Linked DNA regions of Homo sapiens: region 1 is linked to region 2. The links are contacts of gene promoters, found by promoter capture Hi-C in blood cells and fetal thymus (Javierre and others, 2016). All regions are on one chromosome and are shown on one strand. Each heading gives the region's core, a stretch centred on a gene start or on the middle of the fragment in contact. The rest is flanking DNA. Distances are from core to core; before and after follow the strand shown.

Evidence for each region. The method cuts DNA at HindIII sites, captures the fragments that hold promoters and counts their contacts. A CHiCAGO score of 5 or more calls a contact.
Region 1: a contact is called between a fragment that was not itself captured here and the fragment with the promoter of VCAM1 in region 2, in 5 of 17 cell types (endothelial precursors, M1 macrophages, M2 macrophages and 2 more). The highest score is 9.4, in endothelial precursors.

The regions. Positions count from the first base shown.
Region 1 is chr1:100,858,279-100,865,138 of GRCh38, reverse strand. No RefSeq gene overlaps it. Among named protein-coding and RNA genes, the nearest start is that of EXTL2, 33 kb to the left of the region's middle. The HindIII fragment of the contact is 1,099 bases long and covers 835-1,933 here.
Region 2 is chr1:100,718,379-100,725,603 of GRCh38, reverse strand. It overlaps VCAM1 (vascular cell adhesion molecule 1), which reads right to left and starts at 5,862. Exons shown (of 9, transcript NM_001078.4): 1 at 5,680-5,862; 2 at 4,853-5,128; 3 at 2,264-2,584; 4 at 714-980. The coding sequence starts at 5,743. The HindIII fragment of the contact is 1,026 bases long and covers 5,125-6,150 here.

The DNA.
Region 1 (6,860 bases), core at 135-2,634, 140 kb before region 2:
TTGGCCAGGTGTGGTGGCTCATGCCTACAATCCCAGCACTTTGGGAGGCTGAGGCAGGAGGATCACTTGAGCCCAGGAGTTCAAGACCAGCCTGGGAAACATAGTAAGACCTTATCTCTAAAATAATAAAATAAAATAAAAATGGAACAATAAAGCTCACAATATTCACTTCCCCACCTCTCATTTTTTCTTTACCTCATTACAATAGGGATTATATCCCTATCACTCCCTAAAATCATCCTTTTCCAAGTCTTGCCTGATATCTAGGCATTACACAGTCTGGTGGGTATGGCTTGGTTCTTACCTTATTTGATTTCTCTTTGGCTTTTTCACTGTTAACTACTCTCTTTTCAAATGTCTTTCCTCCCTTTGACTTCACTTTTTCTTTTTCTCCTTTCTCTTTGTAGGCTCCTTTTTAGCCTCCTATCCTGTCTTCTCTTCTTCTGATGGTGGATATGTCCCTGGAGTTCTACCTCTATTTTGCTTCTCTTCTCACTCTGCACACTTTCAATGAAATGCTTTATCAATCTAGTCTATGTCTCTAGCCCAAGCCTCTTTCCTGAATCTAGATCTCTATATTCAACTCTCTATGAGATACTCTTCTGATATGTACCAAGTATCCCTCAAACTCAACGTATCCAAAATTAAACTCATCCTCTTCCCCTCCCTGGTTCTTTGTTTTCATTTCCTACTTTGGTGAATGACATTACAATCCAAAACCTGCCCGACTCAAAAGTCTAGATGTTATTTTTTACTTCATCTTCTCTCACACCACCAAACATAAAATCAATGGCCAAGTTTTAAAGATTATTCATCTTTAAGATAGCTCAAGCTTGTCCCTTTTTCCCAGCTCTACTATTACTGCCTTGGATATTCTAATAGCTACCGGCAATCGTTGTTTCTAATTTGTCAAGTATTATGCCAAGTATTTTACACATGCTGTCTTATTTAATTCTCATATTATCCCCTGAGGTAAGAATCATACCTATAATTACAAATGAGGAAACAGAAGCCAAAGAGGGGTAAGAACTTGTCCAAAGTCATAGGGATTCTAAATGGCAGAGCCTGGATGGGAACCTCAGTCTGTTGGACTGCAAAGCTACATGCTTCCTTGTTGCTCTCAGGATCTCTGGTGTTCCTCACCTACACTCTACTCATCACGCTACCACTAAAATTCTTCTCGGAGGCAAGTCTGATCACCTTACTGTGCTGCTTGTGATTTTTCAGTGTTCTTGAGAATCTTCACCATAGTGCTCACACTCCTATCCTGGCCTTTATTTGGTCAGGCCTAATGAGCTCAGACCTCCCAACCTCTCCAGCCTCCCCTCTAACAACCATACAGCTTGTGCTCCACACCCAGGTGCTTCCCACCCCACCCACACACCTCAGTTTCCCACTCTGCTGTATTCATTTGCAAGGGCTACCCTAAAAAGGACCACAGACTGGGTGGCTTAAACAACAGACATTTATTTTCTCACAGTTCTGGAGGCTGGAAGTCTAAGATCAAGGCGTCAGCAGGGGCAGTTTCTTCTGAGAGCTATGAGGGAAGATCCGTTCCAGTCCTCTCCCCTTGGCTTATAGATGGCTGCCTTCTTGTTGTGCCTTACATGGTCTTCCCTTTGTGTGTACAACCCTGATGTCTCTCTGAGTATCCACATTTCTTCTTCTTATAATAAAGACATCAGTCAGATTAGATTAGAGCTCAACCTAACAGCCTCATTTTAAGTTAATTACCTCTTTAAAGGCCCCATCTCCAAATACAGTAATATTCTGAGGTACTGGGAGTTAGAGCTTCAACATATGAACTTGGGAGGGGACACAATTCAGACTCTAGCACCCACTAACCCAGCTAACTCTCACTCACCCCTCTGGATGCATTTGCTCATGTCACCCTCCCTAGGAAGTCTCTGAAGCCCTAGATCTGAGTTAAGCTTCCCTCTATTGTAGCACTTCGTATTCTATATTGTAATTTCCTTTTTACTTCTCCAAAACCTCCATTGGATCTAACTCCTTGAGGGCAGGAGCCGTGTCTTATTATTTATTTTTCTAGCCACAGCCCCCAAACCCCAAAGCTGAATCACATAGGTGTTTAATCAGCTAATTAATCAGACAAAAATATATTGGTTCATATTTTCCAGATCCTTGTTTTGGTCAGGCACTTTTCAGGAAATTAATGTTAAAGTGGCAAAAGGCAAACAAGTCCAAATAAAGCCCCTCCTCTCATGGAGTAAATATTTTCACAGGAGGACAATAAGTTGGTGAAAATACGTGATATAATCTCTGGCCCCGATAAAGAAAATAGAGTAATGTGATGGAGAGTAGCTATAGGAGACTTCTTTCACTGGTGGTTCAGGAAAAGCTGGAGGAGGATGTGAGGTGTGGTTTGAATGATGAGTTGTTAAGGCATGCTCTGTGGGAAGAGAATTTCAGGCAGAGAGAACATCAGGGGCAAAGGCCCCAATATAGGAATAAACTTGGCAAGTTTGGGGGATGACAAGAATGCCAGAGGACTGCAGAGCAGTAACTGAAGGTGAGAGTAGAAGGAAATAATGCCAGAATCTTGAGCTGTGGACTAAGTACAAAGGAAGCCTCTGAAATGTTTTCACCGGGGATGGGATATGACGATTCATATGCTTAATAAGATCACTCTGGATGCTGTATAGGATGTAGATTTTAGAAGGGCAAGAGTGGGACAGGGGGACAAATTAAGAGATTGCTGGCACTAATTCAGAGAAGTGGTTCTCAACTGGGAGTGATTTCGACCCCCCCAAGCCCCATAAGGGACATTTGGCCACGTCTGGAGAGATTTTTGGTGTTCATAACTGTGTAGTGGGAATGTGACTAGCATCTGGTGGGTAGAGAGAAGGGCTGCTGCTGAACAGCCTACAGTGCACAGGACAGCCCTCAGAACAAAGAATCACTTGGTCAAAATGTCAATAATGCCAAGACTGAGAAACCCTGATCTAGAGAGAAATAATGGTAGTTGGGACCATGGTGGTAGTAATGAAGTTTGTCAGAAGTAGTTAGACTTAAGGTATGTTTGGAGTTAGCCAGTAAGACATACAAGACTTGTTGAACAGATTAGATGTGGGCTCCTGGGTTTTTCGCTGAAGACATGGGGTAGATGTTGGTAATATTTACTGAAATGAGGAAGACTGGAGATCAATCATTAAAGCATAGATGATATTAAGAGCCCTCAGAGTTGGTCGAATCATTTAGGGGGATAGCATAAATAGAGAAGGAGAGAGGGCTGGGCAGAGCCTGGGACACTCCAGAATTGAAGTTCTAGTGAACAGAAGAAGCCCGTACATGAGTACAGAAGTGCGGTGCCTGGGAAGGCCCGAGAGGATATGTTCCAGGTGCAGGGGAGGGTGGCCAAAGGGGCAGGAACTCTGTTTTCCTGAAAAAGGAGGGAAGACAAAGTTCATAAACAAGGATGTAGGAAGGCAAGTGGATTTTGTGATGAGAAAGAGGGCATTTTGCATGTTGACATTTATTGTCTATGACGAAAGTCTGAGTATGAGTATCAGTTGAGTGTGAGTGTGTGTGTATGTGGGAGGTATGGGGATTTGAGAGAAGAGAACATTGTGAAATAGCTCTCTTGGAAAGGAGGAAAATGAAGTTACCAGGGCAATGAGATAGAATAATCTGGGACTATTTTGAGTCATTTGAGATTTGTAGTTACAAATTTAAAGTGAGTCCAGTCAGCACAATTTCTGGATTCATAATTTATCAACAACCTTTATTGAATGAATAAAATATCATAATAATAGTAATATTAACATCTACCATGTTGAGTATTTACAATGTAGCATGCATCATGCTTTATGCAATGTTCTTATTTAATATTCTCAAACAAATCTTATGAAATAGGTATTATTACCTTATTTAACTGACTTAAAAAACTAAGAATTAGAGAGGTTAAATAATTTGTTCAAGGCCACAAAGTAAAAAGGTCAGGATTCAAACCTGGGTCAGTCAGTTATAAAGCTTATATTCTTAACTATTAATAATATATCCTACTCAGGCTACCATTAATAAAAACCACTGCCCTGACCGGGGCTTTGTAATTACCCTAGTCTTCAGAAAGCCAAAGATACTAGTAACTCTAGGAGTAGTGGTGGGAATAAATGAAGATAGTGCTAAAAAAAGAAAAAAAACCTAAGTTTCATTAAAAATGCATGTAATTAATTGCTACAATTTACTGCTTTATGATTCTTCTCTTGCAAGATTCTCCTTGAGGCTTACTTAAATCCAGTTTTATCTGTTTACTGAAATGGGCTAGGGAAGGGCAAGTGGAGTTGGAACAAGGTACTGGAGAAGGAACAAGGTACACAGTGTGATTTGCCCTTAGCCTCCAACCCCCGGTGGGACAGTCTTGAGTTCTGATAAAGGATTAAAATTACTTGCACAGAGAAAACATTCTGCTTCTCCTTCAATCCCCTTTAGTTGAAATGGAGATGTGAGGGCTGAGAAGAGGTTATCTAAGACCTCAAGAGAGTATCTGAAGACAATGGAGATTTTCCTTTGTAATTTGACTCCTGCAATGCATTTAGCTCACTACACATTCTTGGCAGCAATGTGATTCATGACATGATGCGGAGTTACAGACTAAATGCAAAACATAATAGGTCCTTTTAGTCAGAACATCTGATATGGTTTGGATTTGTTTCCCCACCCAAATCTCATGTCGAATTGGAGGATGGGCCTGGTGGGAGGTGATTGGCTCTTGGGGGCAGATTTCCCCCTTACTACTCTCATGATAGTAAGTGAGTTCTCATAAGATCTGATGGTTTAAAAGTGTGTGACACTTCCCTCTCCTCTCTCCCCCTACACCATCATGGGAAGAAGGTACTTGCTTCTTTGCTTTCTGCCATGATTGTAAGTTTCTTGAGAACCTCCCGGTCCTGCTTCCTGTTAAGCCTGTGGAACTGTGAGTCAATTAAACCTCTTTTCTTCATAAAATACCTAGTCTCCAGTAGTTCTTTATAGCAGTGAAACTAATACAATGTCTAAAACAAAGTTCTCTGTGCTCCATTGAGTTTCCCTCATTTTAAATAGTTGTCAGCCATAGTCTTTACTTCCCTCTTCACAACAATTTTAAAAGTTTAGAAACTTCTTGGGTCTTTTTTTTTCCTTTTTTTTTTTTTTGCAGGGATGGTGGATGAGGAAGGGATGAGGACAGAACCAGAACCAGAAAATTTCTAGTTTTGATGAATTTGCATATAGCGTTATTGATATAGTTGCATATCACATCAAAAGTCAGATTTAGTTTGTATCTCTTTGTTTCAGTAATATTTACCTATCACTTGCCATTAATCACTGTGTTATTAAAAAGCTGTTTTTTAAAAAAACAACATTTAACTTTCTTGATATATTTATTTCAATACTTATCAAAAATCAATTAAAGCTCACCAGTTTAGATCTATGTATTTTGTTTTGAGCAATGTATATAATTTAACCATGTATTTTCTCACCTTATTTGTCATGATGAAAAATATATTGACTAGGATGGGGTACCCTACTTGACACTGGATGTGTTGAGATCTCTCTTTTTCATGCATTAGGTTAAGCTCCTATGAATCTGGGTCTTCGTTTCTAGGAAAGAGGTTAAATAATCTTTTAGCATTCCACAAGCACTTATTAAGCACCTACTTCCTAGCACTGTGTTAGGTGCTCAAGATACAGAGAAGGACAAGAAGTGGCCAGTGTTCTCAAGGAATGGAAGGAAACAAGCACTCAAGTGTTACACAGAGTAAAATAGTTCCATCTGAAAGGTAGAATGGAGCAAAAGGAGAAAATACATGGCCTACAGAATAATTTGGCCATTCTCTTCTAAGATGATGTTGCCTACCCTCTCTCACTGTGAACTTTCATGTCCAACAGGATTTTCAGAGAGGCTATCAGCTGATAGCATCTGCCACCAGGGAATCAGGATCAGGAGTCAGATGAACTTGGGTTCAAAATCCATAGCTATCACTTACTAGGATGTGACCTTGGCAAGTTCTGTAACTTCACTAAGCCCAACATTCTTCATCCTCAAAGTACAGCTTACTGCAAGGGAGGCAGTATTGTATATTGGTTAAGAGGTAAAGCTCTGCAGCCAGACTGCCTGAGTTTAGCCAGGTGACCTTGGACAAGTGATTTAGTCTCTCTATTCCTCAGTTTCCTCATTTATAAAATGGGGACAATAGTTTTATCTATTTCATTGGTTTGGGCATGGATTAAGTGATGAAAGTGCATAAAATAGTGCCTGGCACGTTGTAACTAGTCAATAAATGCCAACTATTCCTATTGCTGTTATTATTGTTTGTTATTGTTATAGCTTTCTCATTGAGCTGTTGAAAATTAAAATAAAATGTTTGAAAAGTAGCTAGCACAGTGTCTAACACCTAGTAATCGCTTACTAAAGGCAGCAAATGAAACTAAATGAATCTAGCATTCTTGAGTTTCTCTCACCAAACTCCTGACCCTGGCCTTAATAGAGGGCACTTCTAAGAAGATAAGATGGACATATTACAATTCTTCTCATGGCTCTCCAATGGCTTTTTGTTTCACTCAAAAGCCAAAGTTCTTAGGGTGACCTACATGTCCCTAAGTGATCTGGTCTCATCTTCTCTCCTGACCCCATGACCTGCCACTGTGTGCCTCACTTATCTTCCTCTGCCACATCAGCTCTGGACTGTTCTTTAAACATTTCAGGCATACACCTTTCTCCAGTCTTGGCTGTTCTCTCTGCCTGGAATGCGTATCTTCCCTCAGATTACATATCAAAGCATAAAGGACTTAGCAAAAGCAGTTTTTAGAGAAAAATAGCCTTAAATGTTTGTGTTAAGAAAGAATGAGTAAGTTGTGCATGC
Region 2 (7,225 bases), core at 4,613-7,112:
ATGAGATAAAATATATAAAGCAGAATACAGAATTCCTGGGAAATATTAGGTGTACAATCAATAGGTGGTGTCATTATTAATCTCTGGGAGATTCCACTCTCTCATCTGTAAAATGAATACAAAATACTTACTTTTTAGTTATTTCTTGAGGATGGCATATGGAAAGTGCCAGAAACCTATCTGGTGTTTAGCGAATGCTGTTATGTAAGAATATCTTGCAGGAGCCCAAGTGAGAGATGATAAACTAAGGCAATGGCAAGTGGGGTGAAGAAGAGGTCATATTCCAGGGAGCATTTTGAGGTAGAACTGACAGGATTTAACAGCATGGAATTGGAACATGAATTTGGGAGTAATCAACATATTGTAGTCCAATTCCTGGGAATCTAGTGTGAGAACAGAAGAGGACCCAGGGGTGTAAACTTGAAAATACCAATATCCAAGGGGAAGGAGGAAGAGAGAAAGTGAGGGAATGAAGCAGAGAAAAAGTGATATGAGATGAAAAAGAATCAGAAAAGCAGAGCCATGGAAACTCTGGGAGGGAAGACTTCCACAGAGTACTAGTAAGATAAACATATATTTGTGCTAAAGGATATGGCAATCAGATAGGTCATCAGTGAAACTAAGGGAAGCAATTTCAGCATTGAAGCTGTGTTGACTATTGCTCAAATCCCACTGACAGCACCTTTATCATTCCTTTTTCACATTCTACTCACCTTGAACAATTAATTCCACCTCTTTTCTGTTTTTCCCAATCAAATTAACTCCTTCACACACATAAATTCCAGAATCTTCCATCCTCATAGCAATTAAGGTGAGAGTTGCATTTCCAGAAAGGTGCTGTAGATTCCCATTATCTAATTTCTTACTCCAGAAAATCTCTGGAGCTGGTAGACCCTCGCTGGAACAGGTCATGGTCACAGAGCCACCTTCTTGCAGCTTTGTGGATGGATTCACAGAAATAACTGTATTCTTGGGTGATACTGAAAGGGCAAAAAATAATATTAGCAATTGCTAAGCATCATCCCAGTGCAACAGAGGTAATGTATTTCTCTTAGTATTTATGTGCTTCCACCAATTTGATGAAATTACTCTGCCAAATTAGTATAAAGAACTGCTGAATCATTCAAAATAGTCTATCCAGTTTCTGACTAAACTGATCAAGTTTAGTTGATGTTTCATATTTTTCAGATGGTTGTAGATACTCAGAAATTAAGAAAAACCATGTGGCTTAACCTCCCACTTAAGGGTAAGAGTCCCATTTAAGCATTCTTGCCAAGTGCCCATTCAAGTCAGCTTCAACATTTACTGAGAGAATCAACCCACTGCTTTCCAAAAGAGTCAATTTGATTTTTGGACAGCTCTACATATTAGCACATTTCTCCCTATTGAGCTGAAATCTTCTCTCTATACTATTTTAAACATATTGGCCATAATTCAGCCCTGTGCTGTTACAGAATAAGGTAAATCACTCTTTCATATAACTGTCTTTCAAATGCTTAATTAGATGTCTTTTCCAGCCAGGTTTTGTTTTCTCTTCAGAAAAATATCCTCTATCTTGACTATTCTTCTCAAAATATTGTTAAAAGCCTTCCCAGCTCATTCTCTTTCAGCTAAACATGCCGTAGTTGGCAATACTCCCTTTAAATGTGGTACCCAGTGCAGAACATAGCATTTTAGTCCAGAACAGAGCACAGTGAGGCCACTCCTACACAACGCTGGGACTACAAGACTCCCACAAATCCCCTGGCAGTATCAGGGAGATTGGAGGCAATCAAACCCCGTCATTTTTCCCCTGTCCAGTGCACCTATGTATGTATGTGCATATGCATACACACACACACATACACACACAGAATAAGTGATCACCTTGTCAAGTTTCTGTACCTGTGCAACTAATAGTTCAAGGCATACTATAAGAGTTTACAAAACAATATTAAAATGTTTTATCATTTGAGCCTATTTCCCACTACCCAATCAGGTGGTATTACTATTCCCCTTTTATACACTGGGAAATAGAGAAATTAAGTAACCCAAACTCACACAGTTAATAGAGCCAGAAATTAAGCTCAAGCCTTCTCAGTCCAAATCCAGTGTTCTTTTCACTGAATTATACTATTGACAAACATTATGTTGTGAATGAATACAAATGGAATACAAACTATATACAAGTTTTTTTTTTTTTTACTTTTCTGCTAAGTTTATTGCTATACACAACCAAGGTGGGATTCCCACAAAGACTGGAACACATCGCACAAGTACTTACTGTAGACTTGCAATTCTTTTACAGCCTGCCTTACTGTGGGCACAGAATCCATTTCATCAATGTGTAATTTAGCTCGGCAAACAAGAACTTTTCCAATATCCTCAATGACAGGAGTAAAGGTTACTTCCAAACTCTTGGTTTCCAGGGACTTCCTGTCTGCATCCTCCAGAAATTCCTGACTCTTCATGAGATGATCTCCTTTCAGTAAGTCTATCTCCAGCCTGTCAAATGGGTATACATCAGCAACTGAACACTTGACTGTGATCGGCTTCCCAGCCTCCAGAGGGCCACTCAAATGAATCTCTGGATCCTTAGGAAAAGCTGAAAAGGCCAAACAAATACATGGATGGGCTTTTTGCTAATGTGATATAAGGTCTCTTACCACTTTAACACAATACAAATCAAGTCTAGCGTTTTTGTTAATACAGTCTTAATACGACAGAACTGTTTGAATAGCCTTTCATGATTTGGGGTGAGTTCAAGGCACAAGAATTGGAAGCAAACATTTTTTACAACATTATTCAATTCTGATCCTGTATATATTAAGAGTTGCATGTTATTACAGTAAAAGAAAGAAGAAAAAATAATGTTTATATTGAACCTTACATGTGGCTGTCACTGTGCTATAGATTTAACATGAATGATTTCATTTTATCCTCACAATAACTCTAGGAGATAGAGATCACATTTCACAGAAAAGAAGACCTGGACTTAGTACATTTACATAACTTGTCTAAGGTCACACACCTAGTAAATGGTAAAGCTGGGATTTAAACTCAGGATTTCCATTATTGTGTTTTGCTACTACAGATTTACATTATGTTACATCACATTTTCTTATTATAGTCAGGGCAGATATATTTCCATTTTACAGATAATGACTGTAAGCCTTGGAATGTCATTGCAAAGAATAGTTATTGTCAAGATATTCTAAGAAATGAGAAGACCAACTTTAAGTAATTAGCTTCTGAAAATGGTGCCTCTGACAGGAATTCATCCACCAGAAAGATACATTTGTGCAATCTTTATGTTCTGGAACACATATTTGCCTCCTGAAATGCCTAACTCACTATCCCAACAAGTGTTCCATTGAAGCTTCTAGTACAAGGAAATACACTACTTCACGTGGCCATTGCCTCCTTTGCAAGAGTTACCTTTTTCATTATGCATTATGATGAAGTAACATATTGGTGGATTCAAAACTGTGTAGCAAAAAGAATACAAAGGTCTCAACTCTAACCACTATTACAATCAAATGCGGAAAGGAGACAGAACTGTTATACATAATGAGAAACAGACACTCTTGGAGAAAAACCTCAGGCAAGATAATTAAAACCAGAAGCGTCTTCATTTCTCTTTCTTAAATCTTCAACTATTTGGTACTAGTGGGCAAAAGACAAAGGAGCTGGAAATTCTTTCCTATGTGAAGAAACATGGTATTTTTCATTTTTCCAGCAATAATTTCTGTCCCTCATATTCTGTAAGAAATGTTCCTCTAATCCACACAGTTCGATGTCAGGTAACATAAGAACTTGCTACTTTTCCCTGTATTTACATAAGGGAAGCTTTCAAGGAGCTCGGGAGGCTGCACAGACATAAACTATGCACATACAACCAGCATAATTGAAAGCAGCCGGCCAAGCACAGTTTCTTGGGAAGCTTGAGCAACACATGCGGTTTGTTGCAGAATCAATTAAGGTTACTGGGAAAAGTTGAGCTCCGGTACAATAAAACGAAACCAAAGTAATTATAATCAAATGAGGTCTTCATGAAGACATGACCGTAAATGGGTTCAGTTTTTTAGAAAGAGAGGCCATCAGTAACAAAAGGCAAATGATTTATGTCTGGTTAGTTTTTTACTCCTCTTGCTAACTTTGTTTGCTGAATGGAGAATGGAGTGGGATGCATTTTGTCAGGCTGGTAAACTAGGGACATCCACTCACTTTCATGAGGCAAATCTAGTTCATTATATAAATATCTTTGAAGTTGAGCGGTTGAGCACCAAGGCTTCATGGCACCAAAAAAACCAAAAAAAAATCCTAAATGTGTCAACACCAAAGTCAAATGATTGAAATGTTTCCAGATATTAACAATTATGTCTAAGAAGAACACTTTTATACTAATACATATTACTAATTATAGATCTACTTAATGTTTAAACTAATTTTAAGCATCAAATTGCATAAGAATAAATGAATAGAAAATCCCTGAAGGATGGAATTCATAAATCAATCAGACACATAAGCAAGTAAACATGTAAGGATGTAATCAAATGGAAATATTTTTTAATAAAACAAAAAGAAACTTAGAAATGATCATTTTACAGCTAAGGAAACCAGAGCCCAGAGAGGTTGAGTCTTATACATGGTCACTGTGTTTGTGGCAGAGGTAGAAATAGAAGCCAAGATTTGGATTCCTGCTCTCTCTCATGTTGGCCTTAGCTGTCCCTAGCTTTCCTGATGTTGTATGTTCTTTAGCCAAGAATCTGTACATGAATATCCATTTTAAAACTTTTTTTAAAATATCATTTTTAAAAAGTGATTTTAAAGTAAAATTGAGAGAAAAACAAAGATTTTCTAAAGCACTCACAGTAGATCTCCACCTGGATTCCTTTTTCCAATTTCCTAGATTCACAAGTTGCTGTGCACAGGTAAGAGTGTTCGTTCCCAAAACTAACAGGATTCATTGTCAGCGTAGATGTGGTCCCCTCATTCGTCACCTTCCCATTCAGTGGACTATCTATCTGGGTTCTCCAAGAGAAAAATGGGGACTCACAGCCTGTGGTGCTGCAAGTCAATGAGACGGAGTCACCAATCTGAGCAAGATATCTAGATTCTGGGGTGGTCTCGATTTTAAAAGCTTGAGCTGCAAAAGCAAAAAAAGACAGAAGCAAATTTACCACTAGTTTGTCTAGTATTCTCCTCCTTCTTCTCTGTATAATGTCTAAAATATGATCAGACTGATCTCTTTCCTAAGCTGCTTCAAACTAACTGCAAGGTAGCCAAAAAGCACCGAAGTCACTGCCAAAAAAGTTTATGGAATCATCTTCAGTAGAGAGAATTCTCAGTTCCAACCTTGATGCCCATTTATCAAAGCTGTTTTGTTATTTGCTAAGTTTGACCTCATTGTCAAGTATAGGAAACTAAAGAGACAGACCGACTAGAGACAGAATCCAAATTACTCAATTGCCTTTGGAAAAAAAGATACCAAAAACATCAATTTTCAGCTCTAACTATGACAGTACAATGGTATATAGCAAAACTCAATTGCATATTAAAAGTTAGACTAAATTAACTTTTCCTACTGTTTAAAATCCTAGTGTCTTTACTTCACTACTATCGCAAAACTGACTGAAGCCAAAACCAGGGCTAAAATTGAATGCTAACATTTGAAACAGATGAAGGGAAATAACTTACAAGCTGCAAACATTATCCAAAGTATATTTGAGGCTCCAAGGATCACGACCATCTTCCCAGGCATTTTAAGTTGCTGTCGTGATGAGAAAATAGTGGTTCCAAAACCCTTATTTGTGTCCCACCTGTGTGTGCCTGGGAGGGTATTCAGCTCCTGAAGCCAGTGAGGCCCGATGCAGATACCGCGGAGTGAAATAGAAAGTCTGTGCTTTATAAAGGGTCTTGTTGCAGAGGCGGAGGGAAATCCCTTCAAGGGGAAACCCAGGGCAGAGCCAGGGAAAAAAGTTTAACAGACACCCAGCCAAGTTCCACTATTAACCCCTTCAGTTGCTCTCACTGCTGAAGCTCCTCTCTCTGTCCTGGCAAAAGAAGACACTTCCAAGACTATAAAATACAGGCTTTTCCTCATCTTCGACTCCAAAAGGCTATCTTTACTGGAAAGATAAAGGACAATGCTGATTGCAGAATGAAGCTTTCTGAATCCAATGTGGGTTAAGGGGGTGGGGAGAGAAAAAATGGAGACAGAGTAGTAAATTCTACTCTGGTTTTTGAACTGGATAAATAACGACTATGCCATGTGAATTGATTTTCTCCATCAAGGAAATATGTTTGCAATTCTAAAAGAGATTAATTTTTTTCTCTTACAAGAGAAAGGAAAAAGTTATTTCTTTTGATGAGTCATTTTTTAAAAAAGGGACACCATAACTTCTTAGTTTTATATTTATTCATAAAAATAGTTCTTTTAGCAACAAACATCAACTTTTTGAAACTATTTTCTTGAGTAGAAAGTAAAGGACTGTAACTGAAATTGCTGCCAAAACAAGGGAAACAATTTTTTTTTGTTTTAGAAAAGTTACCAATAATTTGGTTAAATTGCTGGATAATTGGAATTTTTTTGCATACTTAAATGCAAGTGTATGGAATCCATCTGAAGTGGCAAATCTCTTGGGCTGTGAGATTTAACCGCAAACCCAGTTAAAAAATTAAAAATAATAGGTTTTTATTATAGGCAAGGGGACAATAACCAACTCTATGTTCCTTTTCCCCCCAGTGAAGTGCCTTTTTAAAAAAATCCCAATTAACTAACTGGCTTAGCCTTGCACACACATAGCCCAAGGCCTTGCAAAATGCTTGCCCATCAAAAAGAAACCGGAATAGCCACTTCCTTTTATTAAACACGTGCAGGTCTATCTCCCCCATTGGATCATCAGTTCCTCTCATGGTCAGGACCAGTTCTTGTTCATTGTTGTATCTACTTCTACAATATCTAATGCATGATTTTCCACTTAGTGGATACAAAAAATGCAATAATAAACGTTATACATTTGGAGAAGAAAATTCTAAATACTAGCAATAATATGTAAATACGGCATGAAAAAACTGTTAAATTCTACAAGAAAATTCTAAAGCTCAGAGACTCAATGGGATGTGTACAATAAACTTGTACTATATAACATTTGTACTCTGTAACAAAGGCCATAGCTGAGGTCTGGAATCTATAACTGTCCCTACCTGGTTGGAGAGGCTTCTGGATCTCCTCTTGGATACT